7 separate regions of the Homo sapiens genome follow, and regions 1, 2, 3, 4, 5 and 6 are each linked to region 7. The links are contacts of gene promoters, found by promoter capture Hi-C in blood cells and fetal thymus (Javierre and others, 2016). All regions are on one chromosome and are shown on one strand. Each heading gives the region's core, a stretch centred on a gene start or on the middle of the fragment in contact. The rest is flanking DNA. Distances are from core to core; before and after follow the strand shown. Region 1 overlaps MKX (mohawk homeobox). Region 2 has its middle 27 kb from the start of LINC02673. Region 3 overlaps RAB18 (RAB18, member RAS oncogene family). Region 4 has its middle 35 kb from the start of PTCHD3. Region 5 has its middle 14 kb from the start of RAB18. Region 6 overlaps RAB18 (RAB18, member RAS oncogene family). Region 7 holds the start of MPP7 (MAGUK p55 scaffold protein 7).

What was found. Contacts are between HindIII fragments. The CHiCAGO score rates a contact against its expected background, and 5 or more counts as called.
Region 1: a fragment that was not itself captured here is called in contact with the fragment with the promoter of MPP7 in region 7 in 1 of 17 cell types (total CD8 T cells); the score reaches 7.6 in total CD8 T cells.
Region 2: a contact is called between a fragment that was not itself captured here and the fragment with the promoter of MPP7 in region 7, in 2 of 17 cell types (fetal thymus and endothelial precursors). The highest score is 7.6, in fetal thymus.
Region 3: a contact is called between a fragment that was not itself captured here and the fragment with the promoter of MPP7 in region 7, in 3 of 17 cell types (erythroblasts, fetal thymus and M2 macrophages). The highest score is 6.6, in erythroblasts.
Region 4: a contact is called between a fragment that was not itself captured here and the fragment with the promoter of MPP7 in region 7, in 11 of 17 cell types (total B cells, monocytes, naive CD4 T cells and 8 more). The highest score is 11.1, in total B cells.
Region 5: a fragment that was not itself captured here is called in contact with the fragment with the promoter of MPP7 in region 7 in 1 of 17 cell types (fetal thymus); the score reaches 6.1 in fetal thymus.
Region 6: a contact is called between a fragment that was not itself captured here and the fragment with the promoter of MPP7 in region 7, in 1 of 17 cell types (fetal thymus). The highest score is 6.2, in fetal thymus.

Annotation. Positions count from the first base shown.
Region 1 is chr10:27,731,508-27,735,266 of GRCh38, forward strand. MKX (mohawk homeobox) reads right to left here. Exons shown (of 7, transcript NM_173576.3): 4 at 3,714-3,759; 5 at 2,949-3,284. Among named protein-coding and RNA genes, the nearest start is that of MKX-AS1, 11 kb to the right of the region's middle. RefSeq lists an enhancer at 2,596-3,759. The HindIII fragment of the contact is 580 bases long and covers 1,855-2,434 here.
Region 2 is chr10:27,368,157-27,372,535 of GRCh38, forward strand. No RefSeq gene overlaps it. Among named protein-coding and RNA genes, the nearest start is that of LINC02673, 27 kb to the left of the region's middle. The HindIII fragment of the contact is 587 bases long and covers 1,305-1,891 here.
Region 3 is chr10:27,529,919-27,534,123 of GRCh38, forward strand. RAB18 (RAB18, member RAS oncogene family) reads left to right here. Exons shown (of 7, transcript NM_021252.5): 4 at 2,589-2,661; 5 at 3,817-3,935; 6 at 4,010-4,076. Among named protein-coding and RNA genes, the nearest start is that of RAB18, 28 kb to the left of the region's middle. The HindIII fragment of the contact is 5,728 bases long and covers 1-4,205 here.
Region 4 is chr10:27,446,893-27,451,127 of GRCh38, forward strand. No RefSeq gene overlaps it. Among named protein-coding and RNA genes, the nearest start is that of PTCHD3, 35 kb to the left of the region's middle. The HindIII fragment of the contact is 4,912 bases long and covers 1-3,879 here.
Region 5 is chr10:27,488,794-27,492,580 of GRCh38, forward strand. No RefSeq gene overlaps it. Among named protein-coding and RNA genes, the nearest start is that of RAB18, 14 kb to the right of the region's middle. The HindIII fragment of the contact is 5,616 bases long and covers 1-3,787 here.
Region 6 is chr10:27,509,266-27,513,018 of GRCh38, forward strand. It overlaps RAB18 (RAB18, member RAS oncogene family), which reads left to right. Exons shown (of 7, transcript NM_021252.5): 2 at 610-665. Among named protein-coding and RNA genes, the nearest start is that of RAB18, 6.8 kb to the left of the region's middle. The HindIII fragment of the contact is 5,210 bases long and covers 1-3,753 here.
Region 7 is chr10:28,300,596-28,304,623 of GRCh38, forward strand. MPP7 (MAGUK p55 scaffold protein 7) reads right to left here and starts at 2,469. Exons shown (of 17, transcript NM_001318170.2): 1 at 2,266-2,469. It overlaps MPP7-DT (MPP7 divergent transcript), which reads left to right and starts at 2,574. Exons shown (of 2, transcript XR_930772.3): 1 at 2,574-3,834. RefSeq lists a silencer at 2,016-2,655. The HindIII fragment of the contact is 2,637 bases long and covers 751-3,387 here.

The DNA.
Region 1 (3,759 bases), core at 895-3,394, 570 kb before region 7:
CCTAGCAGATCAGTCTTAGGCCACCAGCCTTTCTTAATTCTCCAACCATAAAAACAAATCATTTAGTCTGCCCTTTTTAAGTTGGTGCACACGCATGTAAAACCAGAAGTTTACATGTCTAGGTTGCTTTCTCATTGCTTGCATAACTAAAAAAAAAAAATAGGCTTTTATTTAAAAATAGAATTTGGCAAATGAATAGTCCATACTATGGACCAAGTGCCTTTGGAATGCTTTAATAAAAACAAGCCACCGAGATATTTAACTTTGAAAAGAATCAACTCTACAGGCATGCTATTCACTCTGGCTTTATATTTTGTCACTTTTGAAAAGAACATGCATTTTCAGAAGACTCACCACACTGGGAAAATTGCGTAGGCATCTAATCTATGTTTTTACCAGGCAATGTTAAAAATTTTATAAGAAAAATATTTTAAAATAAAAGATTACCAATTACTCTGTCTCATTAAAATTAATGTATTTGTCATTTTTTTTTATTTGCCTATGCACATTTGTACTGTCATAACTGTATTATAGTGTTTCCACAATTTTGAATTGTTTTTCAATATTACATTATAAATATTTCTCAAGTATTTTCATAGTATCAGTATTATAAAGAAAGATCTTGACTTTTATGCAGTCTTAATCTGATTTGAGAGTAGGATAACGTTTACATTTTTTTTAAAATTGATACTTTTTATATGTTCCAGAAAAATGTATAAAACACGAGCATTAATTACTTCTTCAAAGTTTGAAAAGAAATGGATGTATTAAGTCATGTGTTTTGGGAATTGGATTGACTAAAAATCTTAATTTTTCCCTAGTTATTGGCCATTTAAAACTTTTCTTGTTTATGAACTTTTAATTTGTGTGGAGAATGCCAATTTATTTAAATACACATTTACATATAGTATATTGCCAAACAACTGTGCATAGTACTTCATCATAATTTTTTAAAACCTTTTTTGTTTAATAACTGTTTATTGATTGTTGTTTCTTTCCTTTGTAATTTCCAATTTTAATTTGCGTCGATTTTTGCTTGTTTAATTTATTATTGTTTTAAAAGAGTCAACTCTTATTTATTTTTCAGCTTCCCATTTGACCTTTTTTTATTTTATTTTATTTTTCAATTATCTGTTTGAACAATGTGATTTCTTTCCCTGTCTCTAAAAATAAACATTCATAAAACTCTGAATTACTTTCAAGCTCTTCTCTGGTCACAACAGTCAGATGTTAATATGTAGTGTCTTCATTTTCTTTTGCAACAGGGTCTCCCTCTGTTCCTCAGGCTGGTGTGCAGTGGCATGATCACGGCTCACTGCAGCCTTGATCTCCTGGGCTCAAGCGGTCCTCCCACCTCAGCCTCCCAAGTAGATGGGACTGCAGGTATGCACCACCATGCATGGGTAATTAAAAAAAAAATTTGTAGCAATGGGGGTCTCACCATATTGCCCAGGCTTGTCTCAAACTCCTGGGTTCAAGGAATCCTCTTGCCTCTGCCTCCCAAAGTGTTGGGATTACAGTTGTGAGCCACCTTGCCCAGCTTCATTTTCATTATTGGCCAAATTTTCTTTTATTTTTTCTTCTTCCTAGACCCAATTATTATTTACAAGACAATTTCTGTAATTTTGAGTGTTTGGAGTTTGTTTTTATTGTTGGAGTTGGTGATGCAAAGAGAAAATGAGGTTGATTTAAGTCTTTAGAAATGTATTGATATTTTCTCTGAATCTTTGTAGATCATTTGTCTCATATATATTTGTAAACGTTTGAAAATCAGATTGCTGGTGAAATGATCTAAAGGGTACATTAACAGAGCAACTTTAGATTTCTTAATAAAGCCCTACTGTTCATGGACCAAGCTTCTTGATATTATGAAGAAAAGATGTAGTAAAATGTGTATAGTTTATATCATAGGGCCTAGTATACCATAACTACTCTATACATGATTGGTAGTAGTAGGGATAATAATAGTGATTATAGTAGTGATGTTCTTCCTATCTCTTGTGCAGATTCAGAGATCTGGAGGAGAGTACCTACTATGTGTTCTTGGTCTGGGTTTTCTTATCTGTGATGTAATGTGCCTGGTCTAGATGTTTTCTGAGGTTATTTCCAGCTCTAATATTCTAAATCTCATTTGCTGACATTTTCAGGACCCAGACTCTGTCTACACCAGATGTTGGTCATGCATATTCCTTGTTCCAAAGTCACCTCATACACTTCTTAAGAGCAAACCTCTCTGGGAACTGAAGTCAAGATAGAAATTTTTACCAAACCTACTACTCCATCTGAAAGTTTTGGACAGGTAGGAATCGATCCTTTATTTCTGGAAGGAAAGTAAAATTTTAAAAGCTATTTTTCATCCCTGCTTATGCTTTTCAGGAATGAGAGTAAAATTTCCAGAGCAATGGAAGCCAGACCTATACCTTTCTTTCACAAAAGCTTGACACCCTATTAATTTGTTTTCATTTACCATCACTATTTAGCAATCAAAGCATTTAACAGAAAAGATAAAATACAAAGTATTTGCAGGACTGGCCACAATCCGGCACTATCCTCTATTATAAATTATTCATAAAAGCCAGTATACACCCCCCTAAACATTGTTATTCTGAAGATTAAAATTATTATAAAGAATGAAAATTCTTCCATCTTGAGTTAATTTTTGTATAAAAACAAAATGAAAATATTAAAAAATTAAAATTAAAAAATATAAAAAGAATAAAACTTCCTGTCTTTAATATGAAAACTGAAAATTTCTCAGTAAGACCATAATCTACTAACAAATGTATCCATTGGCAATTCTAAACAAAACGAAAGCTTTAAAACTGAATTATGGGCAATATGTGAATAATCTGATGTCTTTATACCTGTTAAAATAAATCCCTCTGATGCAGTTTTAATTGTGCTTTAAACAGGTATCGCAGGAATTACTACAGAAAGCACGGACTTACCTGTGCGATAGACAAAGTTGCCTTCAGTTTCTGATGACGATGGAGACACTAATTCTTCCTCAAATTCATTGGAGCTAAAAGATCCCGAGTGGTTTCTTTGCCTTGTTTTTCCCATCATGGTAGTGTTCGTGGCCATGACATGTCTCAAAGAGTCATTAAGGTAACGGTTCAACAAGCTGCTCTTGTATTTGGGGGGTGCCACGTAGTCCTCACTGGCCCGTGACTCTGGCCTCACTCCCGCTTTGATGACCGAATTCTCACTTTTAATCACAGGATGGTGAACTGGGGTATTATAGCCCCCTTCGTTCATGTGGGTTCTTGGAGGATTTTCTCCATCTAAAGTGGAACAGTATCACTAAGTAGGGTGGTATGCATACTTTCCCCCAGCCACCCAACTCTTATATTTAATCCTTAAAAATATATAAAGGAAATATATTTAAAGTATATAAAATTATCTTTGATAGTCAAGATCAATTTTTAGGCAATGAAAGCAAATATTTATGTCATCTCTCGCTTATGGTATTTTAATTTTAATGAATTTCACTGAATATGTTATTCTGACACATGGTATATCTATAAACAAGAGGAAATGGCCATCATTCCTTTGGTCATTTATAGTATTATAAAAATGAAGTTACTTCATGCAATAAAAAAGAACCGTTAAGGCACCATCATATTTTGTGAGAGCAACCTTAAAAATAGCAATTATGGTGAACTTGCTAATAGAGGCAAAACAAAGAAAGCAAAATAAAAATATTAACAAACCTTCAGAACATGAGTCATCACTGCTTACGCTAAGCCGTTCAGCATT
Region 2 (4,379 bases), core at 348-2,847, 930 kb before region 7:
TTTCTCTTTTTCTCTTCCACTTCTTCTCCCCAAACCCCACTCTCTCATTCCTCACTTCTCTCTCTTTCTCTTTGATGTGGCCATTTCCACAATCATGCTCTAAATCGTGGTCTATTTTGATTCCCATCTTTTCTATCAATAACTCTACCAGGCAGTTAATTTCTATATTTATGTTTTGTTCTTATAAAGAATTTTCTATTAAATATTGAGGTATGTTATTAAACTTAAAAATAAATTATTTAAATTATGATATCAATTTAGACTGACGTCCTATCTCCTAGTATAAATACAAGCCATCCAAACATTATTGCTTTTGGGGAAATTCCTTTAATTTTCATGACCTGATCTGCCCATGGGTTTACCAGACTGTCTTTGTAATGCAGAGGAAAGCCTTCTCTGCTTTTCTTTCTTTTTTAAAAATATATTTTATTTGTAATTTTATTTTTTTAATTTTATTTATTTATTTATTTTTTGAGATAGAGTCTCACTCTGTCACCCAGGCTGGAGTGCAGTGGCTCGATCTCTTCTCACTGCAGTCTCCACCTCCCAAGTTCAAGCGATTCTTGTGCCTCAGCCTACTGAGTAGTGGAATTACAGGTGAGTGCCACCATGTCCGGCTAATTTTTGTATTATTAGTAGAGACAGGGTTTCACCATGTTGGCCAGGCTGATCTCGAACTCCTGATCTGAAGTGATCTGCCCACCTCAGCCTCCCAAAGTGATGGGATGACAGGCGTGAGCCACTGCGCCCGGCCGGCTTTTCCGTGGCACCACTTGACATTCATAGTGAGTCCGCCCTTGGCACTTCCTCCAGTCTAGCCCCACTTGCATTTGTGTAGGAAAAGTTCCACAAAATATGAGGTATTTCGGATGACATCTTGGCTCATGCCTATCTTGGCTTTTTTTTTTTTTTTAAACAATCCAACAATTTCTGAGAAGGTGTTTGACTCTTCTCTTCTCAGAGCACTATGTCTTCTGGAAGTCAATCTGCATTTTCAGGGACTGTTGAAAGTCAAGTTATGTGCTGTTTCTAATGTCCTGGGCCATCTCTCAAGACATTCGCTGATTACTGTGTTAATGTCTAAAAATTGGTTTGAGCTTTTTTTTTTTTTCTTTTCTTTTCTTCCATGAATGCATCGTCTCAGCTTTCAGAATTAAAGCCTGCCTCTGATCCAAAAATTAAAGTGTAATCATGGACACGATTTTTACAGGAAATCGGAGTTTCCTAGCTGAAAAAGCAGTGAAATTGACTGTCAAGGAAAGGTGTCTACACTTTTAACAAATATTCTAAAGAAGAAACAAAGAAGCTTTATTGGGGTGTATCAGAATACTGAGGGAAATGATTACTTAAAATGGGCCTGATTTTGGCAATGATTATTTAATATATGAAAAAAGTGAGGCCGGGTGTGGTGGCTCATGACTGTAAACCCAGTGCTTTGGGAGGCTAAAGCAGGAGGATTGTTTGAGCCCAGGAGTTGGAGACCAACCTGGGCAGCATAGTGAGACCCCACTTTTATACAAATTTTTAAAATAATTCGGCCAGGCATGGTGGTGTGCACCTGTAGTCCCAGCTATTTGGGAGGCCGAGGCAGGAGAATCACTTGAGGCTAGGAGTTCGAGACCAACTTGGGCAACACAGTGAGACTGTCTCGAAAAATAAATAAATACATTAGCCGGGCACGGTGGTGTGCAGCTTTATTTCTAGCTGCTTGGGAGGCTGAGGCAGGAGGATCACTTGAGCCCAGGAGTTTGAATTGCAGTGACAGCTATAATCAAGCCACTGCACTTCATAAGCCTAGGTGACAGAGCGAAACCATCTCTAAAAAAAAAAGGTAAAATTTTTTATTTTTACATATTTGTAACCACAAGATGGCACCAATTTCCCATTTAAAAGCTTGGCATATGGGTGTTTTTCATTTTTTACATATTTTTCCAAGATTACAAGCTGTTGGGTGAGGTTTGGTTACCACCTTCCCTCAAATATGGACTCCTAGACTATAAAACTAGGGCCATTGCATTAAGTAAGAATCCATATGTGCAATTAGGTTTGTAATTTGCATTCTCTGTATCACGACTTCAATGTGGAAGGAGTGACTCTAATGAATAAGGACGAATGCTTAGTGCATTTCTTCACAAATGTTAAGTTCCAGAGTAAGTTTCAAACCCAAAGCCACATATTGGCAATTTTATGAGGCTTCTCTCATGCAAAGTCCTCAGATCTTTGTTCTTGAAAAGGAAAAAACTGTATGACTACACCTATTCACCACCCAGCCAATTAAAAGCAGGAAGCACTTTGGATATCTGTTTGCATGCTTCAGGATCAGGCTATATGTGTTGTCTTTGTTATATGATTTCTAATGCATTTATGAGTTTTGATGGCCAAGACCAATAATCAAAGCAGATTGCATGTAATTACTCTCTTGGTAGTTTTTCTTGATTATCCCATAAATGGGATTTGCATTTCTGAAAATGCCTACAAAATAGAATTTGGCCAAACATTCTATGATCACATTTTCTGTGATGTTGGTTTTAAAGTGACTTGAAATTGTGAAATCCTTCTGTGTCAGTTTTATTGCTCTGAGACTCTAGCCTCTGGTGAGTTTGGGAGGGGGCCTGGAAATGAGATGGCATCAGATTAAACGTGTCTGTTATATACTTATTTCTGTATTAATTTACAGGTGTTAGAACATCTGCTCCAAAAGACTTCAGGCAAAGATGGAATTTATTTTCTCACTTAACTGAAAAAGTCCACAGGTAGCCTTGCTGCCAGTATAGTTGGATTCTGGGCTCAAACAATATCGTTAGGGCTTGGGTGTTTTTTTTTTTTTTTTTTTTTTTTTTCTGTGTTTCTCCTCTCTGCCTCCCGCTGGATTGAATTCATGTGCAACCTCCTCGTCATCACTTCTGGAACTTCTAGGCTCTCTGTGCTTTATGACAAGATGACTGCAGCAGTCCTAAGCTCAGGTGAGTCCAAGATGTAAGCCCAGTAGGAAACAGGGAGCTCTTTTGCTTACAAGGCTAGGAATTATTCTTGTGTCTGCAAGCACCAAGGCCAGGGGAACGTGATGTGCTTACTGGCTTGGGCCTGAGACATGTGGTCCACGCCTGAGGCAGCAATAGAGCCCACCTAGCGCACGTGAACTAGATTGAAGAAGGAATAATCTGCAAGTTAAGCTAGGAGGGCTGTTATCAGAATGGATGTGGCAAAATCTAATTCTAGAAAGGTTTTATATAGCCCTGAGCCTAAGCATAAAATATACTGAGTTCAGAGGTTGATATGGTTTGGCTCTCTCCCCATCCAAATTTCATCTTGAATTGTAGCTCCCATAATTCCTACATGTTGTGGGAGGGGCCTGGAGGGAGATAATTTAATTAAGGGGGCGGTTTCACTCATATGCTTCTCGTGGAAGTAAGTCTCACGAGATCTGATGGCTTTATAAGGGGAATCCCCGTTTGCTTGGTTCTCATTTGCTGTTTGTCTGCTGCCATGTTAGATGTGCCTTCCACCTTCCGCCATGATTGTGAGGCCTCCCCAGCCATATGGAACTGTGAGTCCATTAAACCTCTTTTTCTTTATAAATTACCCAGTCTGGGGTATGTCTTTATCAGCAATGTGAAAACAGACTAATACAGAGGGGTTCTTCATACCTTGAAAATATTATTCTTCGAGTGACAATTTTAAAATCTTTGGAAAATGACAAAGCTAACAGGTCGGTGACTGGGTCATCACTTGCATTCTTACTTAGGGCAAACACTGGTAAAATTATGTAGGCAGAATTTTCTCTGGTGGCATCTCACATATCTTTTCTTTATTTATCCTCACTGGTATCTCTCAGTTGAGATACCAGTTCTCCAGTTCTTCTCCAGCATCTGTGTACATTCCAGAACTTTCTTACACCCTACCCTGGAAACTCATCTTTCCTGAATATCCTTCGTGTTTGTTGTAATTTAGGGACTTGATATTACCTACTGGACTTTCAATGCTTTAATTCAAAGACTGACCAATAATATCGATTAATCCTATGCGTGTTCATATGACTCATTATGTTATGAACTTATTGAGTGCATGGAATATGTTTTATTCATCTCTGTGACTCATGCTTAGCTCTCAATAGACATTGGTAAAATGAACAAAAAGATCTGAAATTTAAGACAGATGTTACCGGAGTCTGTTCTTCTCAGAGCTTGTAAACACTGCTTATGCTGACAAAGAATTCCTAACCTGCGTGCCTAATGATAGCTCTTAAAATATTGTTGCACATGGTGGTTAAGGCCAATACTGTAGGATCTACGGGAAAGCTACTACTGCAAGTGTTGTTTTGGGGCTTATCAAATGGTATCTTCTTTTCTAATTCATGTTAATCCTTTTGTATTCTTTCA
Region 3 (4,205 bases), core at 1,131-3,630, 770 kb before region 7:
TATTAATAAATATTCACAAGCAAAGTTTCAAAGTCAAGTGTAATATTTCAACATTAAAACTTTCTTGCTATGGTTTTTACTTTTAAAACATCAGGATTTATGGATATTTTAACTGGAATTGCAGTTCTGATTTTTATGTTGTGTTTCATTAAGGCAGTTTTTGAAGTTGATCTCAATGAAGACCAGAGAGAACAAAGTTCATGTTCACTTGTTTTTCTGCCAGCTCTGGAAGTTATGGATACAGTTTCCTTATGCAAATAGAATAAACTTTCTTCCTGTTATCAAAAAGTCTTGGGGCTAAAATATTTCATACTTGGTCCTTGCCTCAAACTATTTGTTATGAATATAGAACAGTGTTCCATGTATGGAAAAATAGCTGCTTCTTAAATTTCCAAATTCACTAATTCACTGTATAGAAAAATAGCTGCTTCTTAAATTTCCAAATTCAGTAATTCACTGTTCCAAATCCAAGGCTTGTCTTTTCAGTAATGGCTTTTCCTTCTTTTTTTTTTTTCTTTCTCTCTAAAACAGATAGTCTGTACTACTAAAAGTTAAATGCTTAACATGGTGCAGTTCTCAAAGTTATAATGTATCTGGATACTGAATAATTTGAATATTACTAATTTGTCATTTTTTGCATGTAAGCAGATAGCTAGGATACGTTCTCATAATGATTTGTCATTTAAAAATATACATTTTTTATTGAGTATGAATCAGATTGTCTGAAATAGGTACTAGTACAAGGCTATGAAGAGCATTTCTAGTTTCTTATTATATATATTACCAATTGCTTCCTAAAAGTGGTGACACTTTTACTGATACACATAGTAATCATTTTACTATGATATGCATAGTAGTTACATCTTTTGGCTTCTAGTTGATTACTTTTTTTTTCCCTGCAAATTTGGGTTTTGATTACTTGAGCATAGTGATCAAAAAAGATCACTGGGCATCCATATACCGTTTCATTAATGATTAATGGACTACAATATTGACTTGTCTCATGTTATCAAAGTTATAATCTGCTTTATATAGCAAGTTCACTTTGCTTTAAACAGCTTTTAATTTATATTATTGTTCTTGAAAAGGTGAGTAAATATGCAAATTGAATAATTTTAAAATCCAAGGCAGGTTTTGTAAGAAACTTAGAGGCAGAGAGAATTTTTGTAAAGAGAAAAATTATTTATTTTATAAATTTATCTGTTCAGAACATTTACTTTAAATCTGTTAATTCTTCACTTAAGCATGGCAGGGTGGGGATTAGTTTCTGTGGTGGTAAGGATCTGGAAGGAAAGGCTTTCAAATTTATGTAAGTGTATCTGTGGAAGAGTGGTGAATGTTCAAAGTGGTTTACATTGAAACGTTACTTTCCTCTTAAGTTTCTCTTCTGGGGTTATAAATGACTGCAGATCCTCCCTACTGTCTTGCTGAAGCCCCTCACGCCCCTGGTTTGAATTCTTCTCCAATCTTATAAACCTCTTACAGGTTATTCTAACATTTTTATATCTGGGGGAGCTTCTGCTTGTCCCATAACAAACCCTCATTTACAGCAGTGGGACTGGTAGCTAAGTTGAGGTTTGATACATGTTTTTACTTTTACTTTTCTTTAGGTTACTTTGCATCAGCAGACTGCAAACTTTTTCTTAAAGAGCCAGATAGGAAATAGTCCAATCCTGAAGTGGGCCATGTGGCAATACGTAAGCAAATAGGCCTGCTGTGTTTCAATAAAACTTTATTTAATAAAACAGGTGGTGGGCTGAGCTGCTTTGTATAATCTTAGGTACCTTGAATCCATAGTCCAAGGATGGTAGAAAGACAAGAGAGAGAAGGAATTGGGCCCGGAAGTAAAGGCTTGTTAAATAGGTTCATTCTTTTTTTTTTTTCTCAACAAATTCTGAGCAACTGCCTTTTTTCAAGAATTGGTCTCAGCACAATGGTTAAACTGGTGATTAAACAGATGAGTCCCTGCTTTATGAAATTTACATTTTCTACCTAGTGTACATTGTTCACTAACCCTAACATGAGTCAGAAATAACATGTAATAAAGAATGGCTTGGTTATATGCATTTTCTCAAAAGGAGATACATAGAAAACACTTAAAAGAGCCCAACCTAAAAATCTGTTACCTAAAGTAAGACATCCCATAATTTTCTTCAAATCAGTGGTTCTCAGCCTTGATTCTACATTAAAAGCACCTGGTAAGATTTAAAAAAAAAAAAATTCCTGTCATTACCTTAGACCAATTAAGCAGAAATTTTTTGGAAGCTAGACTCAAGATTCCCAGAAAATTTCATTGTGCAGCTGGAGTTTAGAACCATGGGTTTCATTTCATGTATGATAAAAGTCTTAAATTCAAAACAGCAGAAAACCTTTACATAGTTTCATTTTTCTAGAGATCAGTATTTATAAATAATTTTATTTTGTGACACTTGTCAGTAAGCGAACACATCTTATTTAAGTTCCAGTTTTTTAATGAGCTCATGCATTAATACTATTTTTAGTAATGCTGTTTGACTTTCTACTCTTAAACTAGTATATTGAAGGTCTATTTATACTTTGTTTAATTTAATAATAATGATCATTTTTAGGATACTGCTGGTCAAGAGAGGTTTAGAACATTAACTCCCAGCTATTATAGAGGTGCACAGGGTGTTATATTAGGTAAGTGTTTACTTTAATGTACTATTTAAAAATATTTATTGGAGTTTCTGATTGTCCTAGTCTGTGAAAGTTAATATGTCTTTGTTTTACTTCTCGTTAGAGCTACTTTTATGTAACTTGTAGTTGTATTAACTTCATGTAATATTAATGAATATTAAAACTTTTGATTTTAGTCTTGTCTAGCACTTAAAAAATAGACAAGGCTAATTTATTTGGTTTGAAAACACATGTCAATGAGAACGTAATTGAGGATTAATCAGCATATGTTGGACTGTCTTGGAGTATTACAGAAACTGGGCTTCTGTTATCAGCATATTAATATTTGCTGTAGTTTATAAAGGACGAAAAGTATTTGTTGATTAGTAGAATCTGCTTTATTAGTCCTAAAAATATCACAAAGCACTTAACACTATTGATTTATAATCAAACAAAATTTAGAAACCAGATGTGGATTCTCAGTGTAATTTGTTGAAAAGTGCTTGTTCTTGATATTCCTGGGAAACTGTTTAAAATGAATATTGATCAATTGTATTAATAGGTAGAATTCTCTTTTTTTAAATATTATGGCTTGGTAGTGACAGCCTTTTGGTTCAGCATCTCTTGAGTTTATAAAACACTTTAATAAGGTTTTTGTTATAATGCAGAATGACATAAGATGAAAGTGATAACAGGAAGACCACCAGGAACCCATCTACTAACTGTACTACAATTTTTTCAAAGCTGTAAATTTTGGTTCTTGTAATAAACAAATTAATGGGGTCATAGATGTTTACATTCATGTATTTTTTTTTTAATATTTTGCCACAGATTTGAATCTAAACACTCTGGTTTTTGGATAGACCTCATTCATCATTATGAATGGGAATAGCTGTTGTTTTGCTTTAATGGGTATTAAATGTGTTTTCACTTATTACACAGGATATAATTTCATTTCTGTGACAGTATATGTTAATAGGATTGAAATGTGTATGCTTTAAAAAAAAAACACTTGTTTCTTCCATTTGGATCAGTAGACACTCAATATTAATCGTTGAAGACAATAAAAAAAAGACTTGTCTATATTGCTTAGTAATGCTAACTCCTAGCTACATATCAGAAATACGCCATTGCTTCTTTCTTTAATGCTTATTTAACAAATGACTCCTTTTATTTCAGTTTATGATGTCACAAGAAGAGATACATTTGTTAAACTGGATAATTGGTTAAATGAATTGGAAACATACTGTACAAGAAATGACATAGTAAACATGCTAGTTGGAAATAAAATCGATAAGGTAAGAAGGCAGACACTTGGCATTTTGGTTCTATATTTTGGTAGCCTTTCTTAATCATTGCATTTATATTTTAGGAAAATCGTGAAGTCGATAGAAATGAAGGCCTGAAATTTGCACGAAAGCATTCCATGTTATTTATAGGTAGGTGTGTGAATGAATATCTGTCCTTTCATTATTAATGAGGAATTTTTGAATGGAGTTTTTGCCAAGTTTATTTCTTTATGAACCATAAAATGTGTTTAGAGTATTGTTCCTAGTTGCCTTGTGTTA
Region 4 (4,235 bases), core at 174-2,673, 850 kb before region 7:
TTTTCTTTTCTTTTCTTTTCTTTCTTTCTTTCTTTCTTTCTTTCTTTCTTTCTTTCTTTCTTTCCTTCTCTCTCTTTCCTTCCTTCCTTCCTTTCCTCTCTCTCTCTTTCTTTCTTTTCCTCCTTTCTCTCTCTCTCTCTCTCTTTCTTTTTTGAAATAGGGTCTTTCTGTCACACAGGCTGGAGCATAGTGGCATGATCATGGCTCATTACAGCCTCCAACTCCTGGGTTCAAGTGATCCTCCTTCCTCAGCCTTCAGAGTAGATGGAACTACAGGCGCATGCTACCACACCCGGCTATCTAAAAAAAAAAAAAAAAACTTTTTTAGAGATGTTGTCATGCCATGTAGCTCAGGCTGGTCTCAAACGTCTGGACTCAAACAATCCTGCTGCCTTGGCCTCCCAAGGTGCTGCTATTACAGGCCCCAGCCACCGTGCCAGGTCTTATGGTATTTCTTTATTACACATCAGCAGATTTTTCTACCCCTTCAAAACACAGCAACTAAATGTCTACAATTACTCAACAAATCAGTCACTACAAAGTACTAAATTTTATAGTAAAACATGTATGTTTCAGGATCTGGTTCAATCTACTCTCCTGACTTTAGATGATCTATTCTGATTATTTTATTTTAGTAATCCAGATATCCAGATTACTTATGCTTGTGTGGGTTTAGTAAGTCAGTTGAAAAAGACCACCATTTGTTACTTTCTTACTGGTTTTTTTGTATCATTCTATAGAAGGAATTTGGCTTTCTTAAAATGTGTAGAAAATAAAATCAGGCCAAATGTTCTATGAGCCCCTCTGCTGTGTTTGAGTTGTGCAACCCTTTCCTGTTGGTTTCAGAGCTCTAGACTCTGCTGCGGGTGCAGCCGTAACATGGCCTAGAAGCTACATGGCTTCTGGTGAACATGTCTGTTCGGGTTCTTCCTCTCAATTTCAGCCAACCCTTCTGGCCTCTAATCTGGGAATGATGTCCACTTTTCAGGATGGGCTTCTCTATAGGCCAGAAAATATTTTCTGCATGAGAAGGGTGAGGGTATTTGGTAATTCAAGAACATAGCTTAGAAATGAAAAACTTGTTTATTCTCTTAGTTACCCATATTCAGTTCAGATAAAGTTAATCAAGTAAAGCATCACTTGGTGCTAAGTTATCTCTCCTTCCTTTATCTCCTGCCATATGCAGATTCCATTTTCCTCCATTTCTTCCCAAGCAGCCCTCGTGTTCCGTAATTTTCTGTTCCCTGCTTTCTCTATCTAAGTCCCATTCCCTTAGGTCAGCTAAACCAAACTTGACATAAATAAAGTAAAATTGCCCACTAGTAACTACGTCTCTTTTAAAATTATACTTTAGTTATGGATTAGCTGTCTCTTACACTACGCTTGATTATGAGCAACTCAGAGACAAGGGCTGTGTCTTACTCATCCCAGCATTCAGTACTTAGAGAACACTCCACTGTTAGCCAAGATGGGGTGAGGGTAAAGGCATCAGTTGCAAAGATAAGAATGTTTTCTTATGTCAGTATCCCCTATTCTCACTACTTAGCTGTTGCTGCTTGCTTTCCCATAGCTCCTGAAATTATATAATTAAAATAGGCGGGTATAGGCCAGTCATGGTGGTTCATACCTGTAATCCCAGCACTTTGGGAGGCCAAGGTGGGTGGATCGCTTGAGCTCAGGAATTCGAGACTACCCTGGGCAACATGGTGAAACCCCATCTCTGTTTATAAAAACAAACAAACAAACAAAATATGGCACGTATAATGGCTGAAATGGATTCTGTGATAAATAGGTCTTCTAGGATCTGTTCAGATGCCTCTGTTCTAACGGAAATACAAGTTGTCTTTGCATCTTCTCGTCTGCCCCATCTTCAGCTTTTTCTCCCTTCCTTTCTTGTTGGGAATTTAAATGATATAAAATCTCCTATAAAAATTTTTCTTCACTTTTATAATAGTCTGCCACAGAACATTATAAAATCACTCAATTTTCTTTTTATAGGTTAAAAAATCTAAAGATTCAGTAAGTTGTATCAGATATTGAGGAGAGGATCTAAAACTGATATGTGAACAATTACGAAAGAAACTGAAGGAGGAACTAAAGTCCACAGCAGCAGGAAATGACCATGAATATAGTCTATGAATACAGGGGAAGCATATTGTTAAAATGCATATAATGTTATGGGCAGGTGGTAGACTCATTGATGGCCTCCACTGAATCATGGATCCCAACATATATGACCTTTTGTGGTTCCCTCCCACATTGGCTCTGGCTTGGCCATGTGACGCTTGGTCTAGTAGGGCATTAGCAAGTATGACACATGCATTTGGGATTTGCTTGCTTGGAAGCAAGAGAATGCAGGCTCCTATTGACTTGGTGGTGAGGTTCACAATGCTGATTGTAAAACTCTTAGAAGCATTTACATTGTTTTTGACTTTCATTAAATTCCTTTTTATACAATGAAATGAATCTTTAATTTCCTGTAGTATAGTGATACCAAAAAAAAAAAAAAAGATGCCCCAGGAATCAGCAGAAGACAAACTGGGGACTGCTTAAGGTAACGAAAAATAGAGATTTCTTTAATAGAAGTGTTACAGTTTTGAAGCTCAAACTAGGCAGAAAAGGACAAATGAGATCTTGAAAGCCACACTCAACATACAAAAAGGAAAATAAGATAAATTAGACTCGACTGCTCTTTGAGATTGAACTATATAAAAGGTAAATCACGGAGAGTGACTAGAATCTGAAGAAATCTCAGAGAGGAAACCAGAGTGATGTTCCCAGAGGGAGCCCAAATCCAGGAGATACCTGAGTTCATTCCCATGGGCAATGGGAATTCAGAGGTTTGGGATGTGCTCCAAGGTTTTATGACATCCTGGTTAAAAACATGGACTCGGGCCAAGGTGTTCAAATCTCAGATGTACCTCTTCCTATTTCTATGACTTGAGGCAAGTTACGGAATCTCACTCTCTTGCAATTTCTCCAACTATCAAATGGAGAAGAGGATATGTAGCTCATGAGGTTGTTACCAAGACCAAGTTATTTAAAATGTGAAATTATTTCAAACATGTGAAATTCAATAAGGGCTATGTGTTTGTTAGCTGTTATTATTTGAAATATTTTCAACATTAAGATTAAGGTGGGTTTTTTGTTTGTTTTATACATTTATCAAGGTAAGGAAAATTTTCTACAATTTTTTTCTTTTAATCATGAATGAGTTAAATTTTATCAGATCATCTGTGTGATACATTGGGAAGATCATATGATTTCCTCCTTCAATCTGTGTATTTGGTAAATGGTGTTATTATGTTTTCTGACCTCGAAGGATGCTAGAAAACCCTATATGTGAAAATACAATGTGGATTCAATTTACTAATAGTTTATATAGCATTTCTGCATCCATGTTTTTAGGTGAGATTGGCCTACAATTTTATTTTATTATTTAATGTGGGTAAGTAACAATGTTATTAAAAAGTTGCCTCACTTCTCCTTTTTATTTTCCACAAGAGTTTTTATAAGATAAGGACAACCTGTTACTTGAAAGATTGCTCAATCTCTTCTGTGGAATTATCAGGGTCTAGTGCCTTTAAGGAATGGAATTTTTTTTTTTTTAATGGTCTAAAACCTGTCTCTGTAAGGAATGGGAAATTTTAACAACCAGTTCAATTTCTTTGATAGTATAGGGCAAATCAGGTTTTTTATTTCTTCTTCAGCCAACTTTGGTAATTTATATTTTTCTAAAAATGCATTTATGTCATTTGTTTTCAAATTAATTGTCATATTTTATTGATTAAGATTAAACGTATGTTCTTTATCTGTACTTTGAGACCCTTTTTCTATTCTTAGTATAAATTTGTGTCTACTGTCTTCTTTCTCTAATAAAGCTTTTGAAGCTTTTTATACTTACTACTTTTTCAGGAGAAACAGGTTTTAATTTTAGAGTTTCACTCTGTTTTAAAATTCTTTGATCTTTCTGTTTCTACTTTGCCTTTATTTTCTTTCTCCAATTTTCTGTGTTCTTTTTCTAACTTCTTATATTATCTGCTTTTTGTTTTATAATAAATGCATTTAAAACTATAAATTTTCACTTACATACCAGACTAACTTCATTCTACATGTTTTGATGTATAGTGTCCTAATGTTTCAAAAATTTAATAATTTTATTAGATGTTTCTTCTTTAACCCATGAGTTATTTTAAAGTAGAAAGATTTCTAATTTAATTCAGTTTGTCTCCTAA
Region 5 (3,787 bases), core at 906-3,405, 810 kb before region 7:
GTCCTGCTATAAACGTGTGTGCAAGTATCTTTTTCGTATAATGATTTCTTTTTCTCTGGGTGGATACCCAGTAGTGGGATTGTGGGATCAAATGGCAGTTCTACTTTTAGTTCTTTAAGGAATCTCCACACTGATTTCCATAGTGGTTGTACTAGTTTACATTCCCATGAGCAGTGTAGAAGTGTCCCCTCTTTACCACATCCATGCCAACATCTACTACTTTTTGATTTTTTTTTATTATGGCCATAGAATATAGCACTTTAAATGAACTACAGCTACATCTCTTAACATAGTTAAACCCCCAAAACATAGGTAAACCCCCTGGATGAAAAAGACAAGTTGCAGAAGTATTTGTATAATTTGATAAAATAATAATATATAAAATTCTGTAAGTTTGAGGATGCATAAATATGTAGGTAAAAATATAGCATAATGTATGGGCATGACAAACACTGAATTTATGACAGTAATTATTGTATTAGTCCGTTTTCACACTGCTGATAAAGACATACCCAAGACTGAGAAGAAAAAGAGGTTTAATTGGACTTACAGTTCCACATAGCTGGGGAGACCTCAGAATCATGGTGAGAGGCTGCCATCTAGGCAGCAAGAGAAAATGAGGGAGAAGCAAAAGTGGAAACTCCTGGTAAACCCATCAGATCTTGTGAGACTTATTCACTGTCATGAAAATAACATGGGAAAGACTTGCCCCCATGATTCAATTACCTCCCCCGGGGTCCCTCCCATAACACATTGGAATTCTGGGAGATACAATTCAAGTTGAGATTTGAATGGGGACACAGCCAAACCATATCAATTTTCATATCATATCATGTTTTCCTCTGGGTGAGAGGAAAATAATAGATTGGATCAGGGAGGAGCACACAGGGGGGTCTTGAACTTGTCTTTAATGTTTAGTGCTTCACATTAATAACATAATGTTTGATGCTTAATACGTTTGATAAAACTGGTTATTCATATTCTCTATAGATGTATATGTTTAAAATATTTCATAATTTTCTTTAAAAAGGGAATCCACTGGTCATGTCACAGAAAGATCTATGAGTATCTGGCTGTGAGTCTGACTCAATCCAGAGGATCCAGTTGTGGTGTCAGGAGCTGTCTCCAGCTTTTGGAGTTACTTTCTTTTCTCTAGGTGCTATTCTTATTTAGGTTCTTCATTTTCAGCAGCTAGAGGGCTCCTAATACCTCCAGGGCCCTATCTTAACCTGTTGGCATCTCTTGCAAAATGGACTTCTCTTTTCTCAAAGTTTTTGCAAGGGTCCCAGAATTTCACCCCATTGAGTAATGTACCCATCCTTGAATTACTTCATTTTCACACGGGGAGTGAGCTGATAGGGCTGGACCTTTTTAATGGGCACCCTCTGGAATTGGTGAGATAGGAGATCAGCTTCTTTCAAAGGACATTAAGCGAGAGGTTTCCCAAGGAAAAAGGAGTGTGTTAACTGAACCAGGAGAAACAGATCTGGGATAATAAGAAACAACAGATATCTAGTCTTACATAAAGAATTGCGTATACACTATATCAATGATTATCTTAGAACAGTGCCTGCTGTGCTTTCCCATATCTAAGTGACAGTAAGTTAAAGGGAAATATGAATTGGTTTCACTTGGGAATATGTCTACATATGCAAACTCATTATTGAAATGTCAGAAAATATAATTGAACAGTATATAAAGGAATAACTTACCAAATGAATCTTAGGACAAAATAATATAACAAAATCTATTACAAAATCCAACATAATACATTGCGTTAATAAGCTATGAGAAATGACAAACCATAGGTGAAGCTCTACAGATATTCCCATTAAAATTAGGAATAGAAAAAAGTGATGCATGTTATTGTCACTATTATTTTATTTTTTCTAAAATGGTAGTCAATGCATTAAAATAAAAGGCAGATACAAAAAGTATAGTAAACAGAAAGTGGGAGAATTGTCCTATCAACAAAAGATCAAAACTAACAGACATGGACAGATTCAGTTCAGTTTATCATCAAGGAGAACCTAATCTAAAAGACAAGGACACAAGCATGCTTTGGAACAGGAGCAGTGGGAGTATTAGACACAGAGCCAGGTTGTTCTAAGAATTATCCCAAAACTAGAGAAAAAGAACAGGACACAGCCCCCAGGCAATGGGACTGGCAGGAATGAGGCCGGAAGCAGAATCCAGCCAGCTGGCCTGATTCATAGAGCAGATTCCAGCCAGCTGGCACTGTGAGTAGAGAAGCTCTGACTCTCCAAGTGCTGTAGGTAGGACAGTTAGGTAGGGGCCTAGACTTTCCATGGTGTGTATTTGCCAGCACCTACTTGTGCCCTGGAGCTATAGGCATACTAGCCATGAGTACCCTTACATGAGAAGAGCAGGGCAAGAGATTTTGATATGGTGCTGGACTGGCTTATTGTTGGTTTGGTGGAGGGAGAGGCAGCCTATTCCTAAATGGATACTTCTTTGACAATATAATTGGGTTGATGGCAGAGGGCAGATGGCCACAGTATTACAGCCTTCTTTTTACCTGTGTTTGTTGGGTCCCGAGTTCTTGTCCCACATCCAAGAAGAATGAGGCTACTTTGACAATCGAAGGGTGAGGAGGGTGGAGAAGAATTTTATTGAGCAACGAAACAGCTCTCAGCAGATGGGGGATGTGAGGGTGATCCTTCACCTGAAGTTTGGTGGTCTGTCTCTCAGTGTGGCTGGGTCTGGGGCTTTTATGGGGTCAGAATGGGGAGTGCGTGCTGATTGGTTTGTGAGTATGAAAAAAAAAAAAGGCTAAAACAAAGGCACCACTCAAAGGTGGGCACAACAGTTCAGAAAACCAATTAGGAAAGGGTAGGTATATGTAAAATAGGTGAAGGGCGGGAATCAATCAGAGGAAAGCACACCAAATGGGAAAAGAGGTTCTCAATCCAGTCCAAGGATTTACCCAGGACTGTCTTTGGCTTGAAGGTTGGGTTTCACTGGGACCCGCTCCTGTCTGCCATAGATTTGTCTGCCTCCTGCCTCTATCATGACCGTGGACATGGGCTCAGTTATGAACATTCATGGCATAGCAGGGGTAACTATCCTGGACTAATTACCAAGCTCACACAGTTGGGTCTGATCCTATCCAGCATACCAAAGATGACTGCTCTTATGCCAAATTGGCCATTGGGTAGTGCATACATTGGATATATCCAATAGCCCTGCAAAATTGTTGAAAATTGAAGAAGGTAGTTTGAAATTTGTTTCCTCATTCCTTGCTTAAACAAAATGTAAACAGTCTACATAGGATTTAGATAAGATTCAAAGTCTCATAACATAATATGTAAACTGTTCAAAATCCAAAATTATTCAGTTTACAAAGAATCAGGGACAACTCAAAAAGACAATAAGCAGATTCCAGTGCTGAGATGATGCAGATTTTGAAATATCAAAGAACAAAAGTAGGACAAATTTAAAGATTTCAGTTAGCTTCATTGCAATTACAGAATAGGGCAAAACTTCATTCCACAAAACAGAATAAGTGTTCTGATGAGCTGAGCAGAAGAGTTTGGCTTTATAGACAGAGAAGAGCTGCAGAAAGCAGAAGCAAAGAACAAAGAGCATATTAGTCGTTTCAAAGCTATTTTTTTTCTTGTAAGGCTGGGTCAGGGAGAAAGAACAATAGAAAAAAACTGATTAGTTAATATCAGGTTGCTTCAGGCTACTTTGCGTGTGTTTTAAATTTTTTTATTGATATATAATATTCATATGTATTTATTGGGTATACGTAATATTTTGTTAC
Region 6 (3,753 bases), core at 1,071-3,570, 790 kb before region 7:
TAGCCTCCAGTTGCCTACTTGGTTTTACACACTCTACCTAGTGTTTGCCCGAGTCTATCTACTCTGTCCTGTGATCTTTCTTTTAACCTCTCTTTTTACTGTATCTTCTCTTAGGTAGTAGCCGTACTGCGTGTTACAGAATGCTCGGCTTTGATATATTTCTGGTTTTGCTTGAATTCAGAGTGGATTACACAATCAGATTTTTTAAAGCTAGTTTGTTGCATTCTAAGAGACTTTATTTTTTCCCTTTTCATCTATGTCAGTTAAAGCATGACATGCTGCTAATATCATTTTCTCAGAAGGACATACCAGAACAGTTAAAAAACAACTACAACAAAAACCCCCACCTTTTGTACTTGGGGGATTGTGTAGGAGAGCACGGGGAATATATTTCATAGTAAACTACTTTGCTCTTGGGATTTTTAAATTGCCTTTCTGGTAATTTAATTTTTCTGTGTATACCTGCTCTGAGGCAGTATTCCTAGGAACAGGCCTACATCAGTTATTTTTATCTGCATCTAATAATTTGTGACCAAATAATCATGAACACATTTATCATATGATTAGAAAATTCAAGTTCCCAACCTGTCTTTTTAATATCTCTTTCAGCCTGCTCTTGAGGTTCACAGATGATACGTTTGATCCAGAACTTGCAGCAACAATAGGTAAGCCTGTGTTTAAAAATTCTATAGAAATGGCCAGTATTTTCTTGCCTTTGGCCTTTTTAATCTAAATCCTTCTACCTTCCTCTCACCACCCCACTGCCTCCATGTCTGTTGAAATCTTATTTGTCCTTCAAGACTTAATTTTGGTATCATTAAATCTTTGAAGCCTTTCTAGATCTTACCAAGAGAAAATAACTTCCTTATCTGTTGTCTCATGATACTTTATTAAAACTGCTAATGTGATTATCTGTACACACATTTCTCTCCTATACTATGGATTGTCTTTTATTTTGTAATATACAACAGTTATTTGAATACTTATTGTATGCCAGGGACTGCTACTAAGAGGAGGGGTTATAATAGTGAATAACAAACTTGGTCTCTGTCATCGTGGACCTAACAGAGTGTGTTAATTTTGTATGTTCAGCATTTGCTACAGTGTTTGACGTGTATTCTTATCTTCACATATGTATTGATACTAGTTATTAAGGATTGTTAGGAGCAATGATACTTAAATGCCTTTTAAGGATAAGATTTAGATCGCCTGAAAGTGGTTAGTCACACTAACTTATGAGAATATATGAGAAGATAGAGGTAAGTATTTTGGTATCATGTGTTTAGACTGCAGACAACGTAAAGGGATGAAGAGACCACTTGGAATAGTTGAAAGGTAGCTGAGCTGAGTCAGAGCTAGATAATAGTCTTGGTTGACTTTGCCTTGAATTACATGTAATCTTGATGAAGTCACTTAACTTACTAACTTCATCTGTAAATTGGGAGGTTTTGTTAAAATTTCATGATCTGATGAGGAGAATATAGTAAAGATGATCCTAGCATTATTGTTAGGGAAAATAAAGAGTTTCTGTTAACTGGCTTTATTTGTTTTCATTGATTGTATGTCTATTTTTAAAATTTTATTGTGAAACAATTTCAGACTCAAAGATTTGTAAAAATAGCACAAATAATTCTTATGTATCCTATTAAATTACTCCAGATGTTAATGTTTGTCACATTTGCTTTATCATTCTCTCTCTACACACAGTATTCTTTTTTAAAAAAATGAGAGTAGATTGTAGACATGATGTCTTCAACGTCTGCATACTTTAATGTGTATTTCTTAAATGAACATAGATACATTTTATTGTCTATACACAGATTTTATCAGTTGTCCCATTAATGTCCCATATAGCAAAAGACAAATAATTGTTTCGGGTCCAGGATCATACACTGATTTTAGTTATTTCTCTTTAGCCTCTTTTATTTCATTTAATTAATGAATTAATTTATTTTCGAGACAGAGTCTAGCTCTGTCGCTCAGGCTGAGTGCAGTGGCACCAACTCAGCTCAGTGCAACCTCCACTTTTCAGGTTCAAGTGATCCTCCTGCCTCAGCCACCCAAGTAGCTGGGACTACAGGCACATGCCACTGCGCCTGGCTAATTTTTTTTTGTATTTTTGATAGAGACGGGGTTTACCATGTTGGCCAGGCTGGTCTTGAGCTCCTGACCTCAAGTGATCTACCCACCTCGGCCTCCCAAAGTACTGGGATTGCAGGTGTGAGCCACCGCGTCGAGCCTCTTCAGCCTCTTTTAATCAGCAATTCTTCAGTCTTTATTTGCCTTTTCAGGGCCTTGACATTTTTGAAGAGTAAATAATTATTTTGTAGAATGTCTCTCAATTTGTGTATGTCCAGTATGTCCTTAACGGTTAGATTCAGGTTATGCAGTTTTGGCAGCAATTCCACAGAAGTGTTTTTCAGAACATAGTGTCAGTGAAGTTATTATTTTTCCCTTCATAACTAATATATTTCTTGTAGAGAGATACATTGAGACTGTATAGGTATCCTCCTTCTTACACTTTTTGCCCTCCTGTTGTAGCATCCATTGATAATTCTTGCCTGTGACAAGTGATAAGGACAGTATATGATCTTTTCATTCCAACTGTGATGGTTATCAAATGGGGATTTTTTTAAAATGCCATCACTCTGTCTATGTATCTTGTTTGGAATTCTGTAAGTAAGAGCTCTTTTTTTTTCTTTTTTTGTGAGGCAGTGTCTCACTGTGTTGCCCAGGCTGGCCTGAGACTCCTGGGCTCAAGTGATCCTCCTGCCTCAGCCTCCCAAGTAGCTGGAACTACAGCCATGTACCACCATGCCCAGCTCAGGAGGAGCTCATGTTTGTTTGTTTCTTTTTCTTCATATGAACTCATGGTGCCTCTAAATTTTCAATAAATTAGGCATTACTTAGCTTTTGCATGATATTAAGATTTACAGATTTACTCTTATTTGTGTCATAGGAAAGGGAATCATTTAAAACACGAATTCAAAATCCATTGTAATTTGGCTTTGTTGTATTATAATAATAATTATTATTATTTAATTTTATTTATTTATTTTTAGACACAGTCTTGCTCTGTTGCCCAGGCTGGAGTGAAGTGGCACAACCTTGGCTCACTGCAGCCTCCACCTCCCCATTCAAGTGATTCTGGTGCCTCAGCCTCCTGTGTAGCTGGGACTACAGGCATGCACCACCACACCTGGCTAATTTTTGTATTTTTAGTAGAGATGGGTTTTGCTATGTTGGCCAGTCTGGTCTTGAACTCCTGGCCTCAAGTGATCCACCCACCTTGGGCCTCCCAAAGTGTTGAGATTATAGGTGTGAGCCACTGTGCCCATACTGGTGTATTATTTACTCCTATAAAAAATTACTTAGTAGTAAAACCTTATTTTGGTCAGAACCTGCCTGAGTACGTATTGGTATTGGCTAGCCAGGAGGAGAGCAGTAGCAACTGGCAGGAAAATAAACTTGCCTAAAGTTAAAATTTTACTGAAGGAATGAACATACATATAATATTAACTGTCTTCATTACAAACCCAAATGGAATTTGGGGACTTGTGGCATGACAAATCGTGGGTTGTCTTTATTACTAAAAAGGCTTTGTCTTCTGCAAAGACAAATACTAAGATTATAGTATGCTGGTGAAAATATATGTAATTTGTTCCCCAAATAGGCCCTAGATCTTGAATATGTTGAACAAAATATCTTTTACATTGAAGCATCAGATTACTTTCAGCCTTAGGTAATAACATA
Region 7 (4,028 bases), core at 1,219-3,718:
TAAAATGTACATGTGAAACAGAGGTATTAGCCACAAAACAAGAGATAACTTCATGATTAGAACAGTTACATTCAGGCTGGGTGCAATGGCTCACGCCTGTAATCCCAGCACTTTGGGAGGCCAAGGCAGGCAGATCACTTGAGGTCAGGAGTTCGAGACCAGCCTGGCCAACATAGTGAAACCCCATCTCTACAAAAATATTAAAAAAAAAAAAATAGCTGGGCGTGGTGGCATGCGCCTGTAGTCCCAGCTACTCAAGAGGCTGAGGCAGGAGAATCACTTGAACCAGGGAGGCAGAGATCACAGTGAGCCACAGCACTCCAGCCTGGACAACAGAGTGAGACTCCACCTCAGAAAAAAAAAAAAAAAGAGTTCCATTCAGTAATCCATAAGACATTTTCATGTTCCTGATAACTAGTAAATTTAACAAAACCTAACGATTCTCTAGAATTCCCTAAGCCTTAACATCATACAAGCGGCTACTCCCAACTACCCATTTCAGCCTGTCCCACACTAATGCCCAAACTCCTTTGGTCAAGTTATTCTAATTAAGAAATTATTCTTCAATCCGTCTATAAATTTACAGTAAACACTTCCCGAAACAAAGTCATAAGTCATGATCAAAATGCATTACACTTCATTAGTATTTTCCTTCTGCATATCAATTATTTCTATTCAATTCAAAAAAAGGTACCGAAATTCAATGCTGAGCTAGAGATGCAAACACAAATAAGGTTCTCTAATTTGGAAAGCTTCCCAAAATTTAAAATAGAGATTTTCACACAGCATTCCTAACTTTTGTTTGTTTTGCCTGTGTGGAAAATTACCTTTCACCTGAAATTCAAACTAGCTAAGCAACCTGAATGGAAAGAAAAACCTCGCAGATAATATTTCTTTACTTGAAAATAACCATCTCCACCTCTGACCTGTGTATACGGGATCAAATTGGTATGCAGAAGTTGGCTTGATGGCGGGAATCTTACCCAGATTTTGGATTAAATCCATTATAGGTATAAAATAAAGTAGGAGTAAAGTGGGGCAGGATTCCTTTCATTTCTAGGGCTTTCAGTTGACATACCTGTAAAATGGACATGCTATGCACAGCCTGCCTCAGAAGAGTAGGAGGATGGCATACTATATAATTGATAGAGTGCTATGAGCTTCACGATTAAATGGAAATACTGTTTTTATAGAACCAGAGTGAACCTGAGCATAGAAAACTCTCCAAGGGCCATCGCTGTGACATTACCGCTAAAACTCAGTGACCTTCATCAATTCACTTGTAAACAAGCAATATATTGAGCAAGTCAAAGGAAAGGCAGCAACAATTCAAGATACTTCTTTATAAGTAAATCAAATTACGTAATTAATAGCCCAGGATTTACCTGCAAACTATTACTGCCTGACTAGCAGGTGCATCCCCAAAGCCTCGAGTACAGAGACTGTTTTTAGAGAGCCCCCCCTTTTTTAAATGTGAATATTGCTTTTAAAAATTAGAAAAAGAAAAAAATCACAATTCTACTCCCACCCATGGCACAGTGACAGAAACAAGGTCCCACCCCCACAATCCTTTCAAACCTGCACAGGCATTCCTCACGAACACTCCTCCCCCTCATTCCTACCTCACCGCTCCCCACTTCAGCCCAGACAAAGCTGAGTTACTCGGCTGGGTCTACCTGTCACTTAAGAAAAAGCCCCCAAATAGATTCACGCTAAATGCTGCTTTTAATTTTTTAAATAGCAAATAAGTAAATAAATAATGCTATCGTGTAGATTACACGGCCAAACGCCTGTTCTCAGAAAACATGTAATTAACACGACCCAAGTGAAGACGCCTTTCTGGCTTAGGGAAAGAAAAAAAAGAAGCCAGCCAGCTTATCGCTCCCTTTCAGTCGGTTCTTTTCCCCGGGGAGCCGGACTCTGACTCAACTCCGCAGTTTTTCCTCCACCTGTCGGTTCTCCCCGCTCTGGGTCTGCCCCGCCGCCGCCCCCGCCCGGAGTCCCGCGCGTCAACAGGGGTCTCCAGGGGTCCTCAGGGTCCCGCCCGAGGCGGCCCCGCCCCTGCCCCGGCCCCGCCCCCACCTCCTCACAAGGTGCCCGCCGCGGGCTCCCAGGCTGAGGCGCCTAGAGGCCGGCAGGAGGCTCCGGAGGACCGCGGCACCGCTCGGCCCGGTCGCCGGCGCAGGGAGCAGCTTCGGGGGCCGACCCCACCGCCCGAGCCTAGCCCTGGGCTCCGACAGGCGCTCCCCAGAGGCGCCCCATTACCTGCTCTGGGCTGCCGCGGTCCGCGGGCAGGAGGCGCACTCGCTCTGGCCCCTGCAGCCCCGGGCCCGGAGGCAAGGAGGCAGCGACCGCCACCGCCGCAGAGGACAATCGGGAGCCAGCGGGCTCGGCACCGCCGCGGCGGGCGCAGAACGCACGAGCCCAGTGGGAGCCCGGCCCCCGCCTCCAGCCCGGCTAGTAACCAACACGGCCCCCACCCTCGGAGGGGCGGGACCGCGGTTGGAGGGGCGGGGCGGGGCTGCACCGCCCGCGGGTAAGAGGGGCCTGCTGATAGGCTGCGAAGGCGATAGGCGTCTCAGACTTGAAGACGCCTCTCCAGCAGAACTCCCTCATTGGTCGGCAAGAGAAAACAAAGCTGGGCTCTGATTGGTGACAGCTCTGTAGCTCCTCCTCATACCCGCAGTCCCCGCAAGTTCCACCCCTGCCCGCCCGGTTCGCTCGCCCTTGGTTCCCACTCCCAGGTGGCTGCAGACTGGAGTGTGTTTCATGGACGAGCAACCTCCCTGAGGAGAACCCCGGATACGCAGGTTCATTCGCCAGATGCGAGTTTTCTTAAGCCGCTGCGATTCTCTGATTTCAGTATGAACTTGGTGAATAACGTAATCTTTAACTTCCTTTGGATTCAGACAAGTCTCCTAGGTTTAAAAATGCTGCATAAGATTGAGAGGGATATTGTTATGCACGAAAAAAGACATAAGGTGTTTTCACCTTTGGCGACACTGTAGGTGACTTTTTCTTATTACCTTTTTGTGTTCCATATTGAACATGTACTACATGATTAGAAAAAAAAATTCTTAAATAGAAAAATGAGTAGGGTGCGGAGAATGGTAAAGACAAACTTTAAGGAAATCCAGAGAACTGATTCTTTCACAATAGAAGAAAATACAGTAAACATGCTTAATATCTGAGGGCTACCCCGAAAAAACATGAACTGGTATCAGCGCCCTTCAGCTCTCTTAAAGAACTTTACATATGTGACCGAGGTGCCCCCATACTCCTTCCTATCATGTAACCAACACATAATGTGGACAGCACTACACTGCAAACAGAATTACAGGAAGACTCTTATAGGAAGAATTAGAATCCAAAGTACACAATCAATAAAGCTTTAGAAAAAGGGGTAGTAAAAAGCAGAAGACAAAAAAAAATCAGGTAATATAAATTGGAAAGCTCAGCTGATGGAGGGAATCATCAGAAAAAAAATAATGTGACAACACTTCAAGATGTGATAGAGACTTTGAATGGAAAGCTGAAGGGAGAGGAAGGGGATTGAGATAAGGATCAATGACCTGCAGTTAATATGAGCTCTCAGAACACATCCCCCAGAACTGGTGTCAGCCTAGAAGGCAAGAAGCATTTCTCACCTAGGGACCACTCTCACTTAACTCTCTCTAGCTGCCTTAACATTCTGTTTGTTCTTGTCATTCTCGCAAAGTTCTAAAACAGGCTATTTGAAATTAAGCACTTCCCCCCAGCAACTCCGTGAATTACGTAATAGTGAAAAATGGAGATAGACAAAAAGCAAACCTGAGGAAGGAAAGGAATGTTAAGGTAAACATAAACTTAAAGAGAAGTAAGGGCAAAACACCTGATAGAAAGAAGACAAGAAATTCTTTTTTCTCTCTTACTTCCTGAGAATAAAGTAAAGGTCTTTGGAGGACAGAATAACCTTATTGCCTAACAAAAAGAGTTTTTACCAAACCTTTCTAATAATAACTGTAATTCTAAACTGTAGTCTAAAAATA